Linked DNA regions of Homo sapiens: region 2 is linked to region 1. Evidence: promoter capture Hi-C in 16 types of primary human blood cells and fetal thymus (Javierre and others, 2016). All regions are on one chromosome and are shown on one strand. Each heading gives the region's core, a stretch centred on a gene start or on the middle of the fragment in contact. The rest is flanking DNA. Distances are from core to core; before and after follow the strand shown.

What was found. Contacts are between HindIII fragments. The CHiCAGO score rates a contact against its expected background, and 5 or more counts as called.
Region 2: a contact is called between a fragment that was not itself captured here and the fragment with the promoter of SELPLG in region 1, in 1 of 17 cell types (non-activated CD4 T cells). The highest score is 6.4, in non-activated CD4 T cells.

Annotation. Positions count from the first base shown.
Region 1 is chr12:108,632,131-108,635,143 of GRCh38, forward strand. SELPLG (selectin P ligand) reads right to left here and starts at 1,764. Exons shown (of 2, transcript NM_003006.4): 1 at 1,610-1,764. It overlaps LOC105369968 (a long non-coding RNA gene), which reads left to right. Exons shown (of 3, transcript XR_007063449.1): 2 at 2,201-3,013. RefSeq lists an enhancer at 1,236-1,285 and a silencer at 2,526-2,575. The HindIII fragment of the contact is 5,781 bases long and covers 1-1,941 here.
Region 2 is chr12:106,295,698-106,298,639 of GRCh38, forward strand. It overlaps a transcript of TCP11L2 not described here. Among named protein-coding and RNA genes, the nearest start is that of TCP11L2, 5.6 kb to the right of the region's middle. The HindIII fragment of the contact is 4,525 bases long and covers 1-2,942 here.

The DNA of each region.
Region 1 (3,013 bases), core at 514-3,013:
CCCTTCCGCTCTCTGAGGTTTAACTCCCCTGGCTGCTGGCCAAGCCTGCTGAGGGAGGCATCAACCACCCAGGGCACGGCCTCGGAAGAGACTCTGGGGCTGTCTGAGGGCCTGGGAGCCACCTTCTGAGGCCCCGGCCCACTGAGGGGCCTGGCTCTGGGGGCCTCAAAGTCAGAGATGGAAAAAAAAGGAAAACAGAAGAAAGAGGAAAGAGGAAGAGAATTCCAGGCAACAGAAGCCCAGATATCGACAATATGGGGTGTGTGTGTGTGTGTGTGTGTGTGTGTGTGTGTGTGTGAATGTGTGTACAGCAGGGCACAACTGGCCCCCACCATTTCCTTTTAGTGTCCTGAAAGTATCTCAAATACAAACTAATAAGAGTATTCTAATTTTTTTTTTTTTGAGACAGGGTCTCACTCTGCCACCCGGGTTGGAGTGCAGTGGCACAATCTCGGCTTACTGCGACCTCCCCCTCCCAGGTTCAAGTGATCCTCCCACCTCAGCCTCCCAAGTAGCTGAGACCACAGGCATACACCACTACACCTAGCTAAGTTTTTGTATTTTTGGTAGAGACGAGGTTTCACCATGTTGCCCAGGTTGGTCTAGAACTCCTGAGCTCAGGCCAACCACCTGCCTCGGCCTCCCAAAGGGCTGGGATTACAGGTGTAAGCCACTGCACCCAGCCAAATATTCTAATTATTATTATTATTATTGTTTTCCCTTTTGCTAACAATAGTATCTTAATTCTAATATTTTAATAGTTTGCCACAGACAAGTGTCATTTCCTCAGTCTTATAAAAAGTGGGAAGAATGCATCTTTCTCTGAAAAGAACTTTTTTATGCGTCCATAACATGCAGCTTCAAGAGAAATCCTGCACTCCCCCTACTTTCTGGAGTCTTCCAGACCTAATCTCAGCTCTGCCCCTAAACAAATCCCTTCACCTCTCCCGACCTCAGTTTCCCATCCAGGAAAGGAGAGGATAAGATCATTTCTAGGGAAACACTCATGGTTTCTCTGATTTTCAAAATCAGAATGCCGCCAAGCCAGACGCTGCAGGCAAACTGGCCAGGGAGGGAAGTAAGTTAATGGGAGGCTGGGGCTGGTGGGTCACACCTGTAATTTCAGCACTTTGGGAGGCCAACGCAAGAGGCTTGAGGCCAGGAGTTTGAGACCAGCCTCGGCATCAAAGTGAGACCCCATCTCTAGGAAAGGTAAAAATATTAGCTGCATGCGGCGATGTGCGCCTGTAGTCCCAGCTACTCAGGAGGCTGAGGTGGGAGGATCACTTGTGCCCAGGAGTTTAAGGCTGCAGTGAGCCATGATTGTGCCACTGCACTCCAGCCTGGGTGACAGAGTAAGACCCTGTCTCAAAAAAAGAAGGAAAAAAAAAGTTGGCAGGAGCAGGATTCAGAAGAGTCACAGAATAAGGCCACAGACTCCAGGAAGACTTTAGTCTTGAGTCGGAGGAGCCTCAGTTTGCCCTCCCCAGGTGCTGCAGCTCAAGAAGGGCCTGGCGGTCCTACCCGGGCCTGCCAGCAGCTATAAGGCAGGCCCTTGGCCCATGGGGACCTCCAGCCACTCCCTGTGGTTTTGCAAGCCAGCACTTACCACCGTGCTCAGCAGAGCATGGGACAGCTGCCTCGTGGGCCCAGAAGAAGTGGCTTCTCTGCTTTAGTGACAAGGTCCCAGCCCACGCTGCCAGGCACTGCTGTGGCACCCCCTGCGGCAGTCCCGGATCCGAGCAACCCCCAATGGCTGTGTGTGGAAGGAGGAAGCGAGAATGTGGTTACTTAGGCAGGGCCATGTGACAGCCCACACCCCATTGTTTGTGACAGCTTTGGTGACAACATTGATAAAGACAGGGTGGTAGTGGGGCACCTCCTAGGTCTGACACTGTTCTTGGGTTCCCATAACTGTGAAAACACTGAGAACCAAGTAGAAGCTTTCTGGGGAGAAGTTCTTCGGTTTTGGGTGGGGCCCAAACTGAGAAAGGCCACAGCATTACTTCAGCAGCAATGGACAGTCGGGGCCAGAGGGAGCCCCCTGAAGGACAGGAGTGACCAGAGAAAAAGGAGAATGGTCTCGCTTCTTGCCCAAGATTGGTGGGGCGTGGGGAGGGGTGGGAGGTGGTCAGGGAGCAAAAAACACAAAATATGAACCTTCAAAGGGTTTGCAAATATGGTGTATTTCTTCTCGCAGGACTCAAAACACTCTCTGTAGATGCACAGCACAGGCCCTTTCAGCTGCAACCAAGAGCCTCTCTAGGGAGCTGGACTACAGATACCACAAGGGCAAGTCCTGCTTATCTTATTTCTTCATCCTAAATTTGTTCATTTGACCAACTCTGGCACTCCAGACTGCATGCCCTGAGGTCTAAAGGCCAGCAATTCTGGGCTGTGGCCCTCTGGTAGCCCTCCATCCAATGGGGAGGCCAGCGAGTAAACAATTCGGTGGAACATCATGCCACAATGACACAGCGCAGTGAGTGCCATCCTGCGGTGAGCAAGGGAGGGGCCTCTCCTTCCATCCTGGGTGGGGGAGGGAGGTTAACAGGAGGAGCTTCCAAGAAGTGGCACTTGAGATGACAAGCCAGGTGGGCATCCCAGGCAGAGAGCACAGCAGAGGCAAAGGCTGGGAGGCCTAAGAATACCCAGACACTTCCAGAAGGGAGGGAATAGGGGGGTCTCCCAGGATCTGCCCTGCGGCTTTGCACCAGGCAAGGGCTCAGGACATGCACAGAAAGATACTCATATCTTGCCTTGCACAAAGTTGTTTTTTTTTTTTTTTTTTGAGATGGAGTTTCACTCTTTTTGCCCAGGCTGGAGTGCAATGGCACAATCTCGGCTCACCGCAACCTCCGCCTCCCGGGTTCAAGCTATTCTTCTGCCTCAGCCTCCCGAGTATCTGGGATTACAGGCATGTGCCACCACCCCGGCTAATTTTGTATTTATAGTAGAGATGGGGTTTCTCCACGTTTGTCAGGCTGGTTGGTCTTGAACTCTCGACCTCAGG
Region 2 (2,942 bases), core at 411-2,910, 2.3 Mb before region 1:
AGCATTAAAATTAAATTTATTTGTATAATTATGTTACACCGAGCATTTTTTTTTTTTTAGACTGAGTTTCACTCTGCCACCCAGGCAAAAGTGTAGTGGCGTGATCTTGGCTCACTGCAGCCTCTGCCTCCTGGGTTCAAGTGATTCTCCTGCCTCAGCCTCCCAAATAGCTGGGACTACAGGAGTGCGCCACCACGCCCAGCTAATTTTTTGTATTTTTAATAGAGACGGGGTTTCACCATGCTGACCAGGCTGGTCTTGAACTCCTGACCTCAGTTGATCCGCCCACCTCGGCCTCCCAAAATGCTGGGATTACAGGAATGAGCCACTGCGCCCAGCCTATACTGAGCTTTGTGGGAATTTACTGATAATATACATGCAGATGTACATGTAACATAAACAATGGCATGGCTTGGGATCCCTCTGAGGGAATTGGCCAGAAATGTTTCGTGTGTGCATGTGTGCGGGTGAATATATATCTATGTAAACAGCTTCATATTTTTGTATAAAGCTGCATTCCATTCTTGCTTTCTAGAAGGCACAGCCACCCCAGTATCTGGTCCAGGCACCCTTCTAGAGTAATGGAATGTGATTATAAATACTTTGGGCACTTAGTTGGTACAGAGCTGGTATGCTTGTTGATATGTTGTTATGGAAATTAGATAATTATGCCAATAGGTAATACTTTGCATGTGACACTGCACGTGTATATGTGTGTATTTGCGGAGAGAAGCCATGAAGTGAGTTCTTCTGGTTTCTATTCTTGACCTGCCAACTGAGTGAGTCACTGCTGAGTATCCCTTTAGTCAACATAAACCCTTAGTGCCCTAGTATATGACCTTCCTCTAGAATGCCCAGGAACTCAGGTAAAAGCTACTATTCAGGCATTTGAATGTTCAGAGCTCTCAATTTTTTTGTCTTCAAAATGTACGGCTGGGTGTGGTGGCTGATGCCTGTAATCCCAGCACTTTGGGAGGCCAAGGGGTGGATCACTTGAGGTCAGGAGTTCGAGACCAGCCTAGCCAACATGGTGAAACCCCATCTCTACTAAAAATACAAAATATTAGCCAGGCGTGATGGCACACATCTGTGATTCCAGCTACTCAGGAGGCTAAGGCAAAAGAATCGCCTGAGCTCGGGAGGCAGAGGTTGCAGTGAGCCGAGATCATGCCACTGAACTCCAATCTGGCTGACAGAGTGAGACTCTGTCTCAAAAAAAAGAAACAACAAAAAAAAGGTAGTATAATTATTAAAGTCCCATATAACTTTGAGAAAGGACATTTGTCCAGTTTATCATCAAAGAAAGGGAAGGTTTTAGAGGTCAGAGTTTGGGGCAAAAAACATGTTTAAAATGAAAGCAAACTCCATGCACTTTGGCTATCGAAGAATAGGGCTTGAGGAGAAGAACTTAAAAAGTAAAGATCAATATTCCCCCACCCAGCATTAATAATTTTGACATATCATAGTGAGGGACTTTTTGTAAATCTATTCTTTCATATATTTTACATGAAAAGCTCCATTTGTTGTCATGGCTTTCTTAAATATGAATAAAAAAGAGATGGGAAATTTGCTTATTGTGCAGTATCAATAGCCTATCTTCACTAAGGTATATTTAGGAGGACATACAATAATAAGAATAGTTGCATTGTATGGCAGTGTGAAATAGACTAGTAATATATGAATGACATTCTCATTGTAAAAGAAATAAGCTGCTTGAATGTGTACGGAATAAACCAGGAACTAACTTGCCTAAATAGCCTTCTAAACGGTTGAGATTCTTTTTAGTCCATTTCTATGTATTTCATATACACACAATGCATATGTACTGTCTCTAGTGTAAGCTCTCTCTAGCATAAATCGTGTCACCCCATAATCAGTGTTCTGTAACTCATGTTTTCATGTTGAATCGTGTACCTAAAAAGTCACATTTCTTAATCCTTCCTTTATGTTTTCTGGAGATTGCATCTTATTTTAGTAGCTCTTCCTCATGCCCATTTGACAATTTCATTTGATTTTAAAACTGAGGGCCTGTGTTCATCCATGAACACTTTAGAAAAGCAATCATTTAGAAAATGGTTGATTGCCTGCTGGCCTGGAGATGAGCTAAAGAGAGTGACTGGCTTGGTCAGAGGTCTGAGCCATCACCTGTTTGGCCTCCCATAGGTGTTCCTTTGAGCTTCAACTCTCTTTGGCCCCTCCCACTTCCTGCCCCAAAGTTGTCTTCACTGCTGGTTCTCACTCTTTCTGCTTCCCAGGGGACAACAGTGGTGCCCAGGTAAGAGGAAGGGGCCCAGGGTGGGGTGTAGGGAGCACTAAGAATATTTGTCTTTTTAGTATGTGACAGGGTCAGGGACTGGGCAGTGCCTAAATGTGAAGGTACAGGCAATTGAAATGAGAAATAACTGTTAATTTTTTTACTAATTCAGTTCAGTGGAGTCAAAAGAAAACTGGTTTTGGTGCTTTGGAAAATTGTTCAAGCATCAATTAATAGTCAAAACTGGTCAATTATCTAAATCTACCTTATCTTCCAAATCACAGGATATAGAACAAAAAAAAATTGCCTAAAAGGTGTGGTTAATTTTTTTTAATAGACCTTATTTTTAGAGCTCACAGTAAAATTGAGTAGGAGGTATGCAGTTAATTTTTGAACATTCAGGGCCTAATTCTCTAGTTGGTGTATTAGCCAAATTCATTTTCTTCTTTTTGCTTTCTATTGTATTTTCCCCCTCACTGATTTTTGGCCCTTTCTGTAGCACCTGAAGATGGACAGGGGAGAGAAAAGAAGTGGGATTCCTTTGAAAAACATTTTTTTTAATTTAATTTTTAGTTTAAAATTTTTTTTGAGACAAAGTCTCGCTCTGTTGCCCAGGCTGGAGTGCAGTGGTGAAATCTCAGCTCACTGCAACCTCCGCCCCCCAGGTTCAAGCAATTCTCCTGCCTCA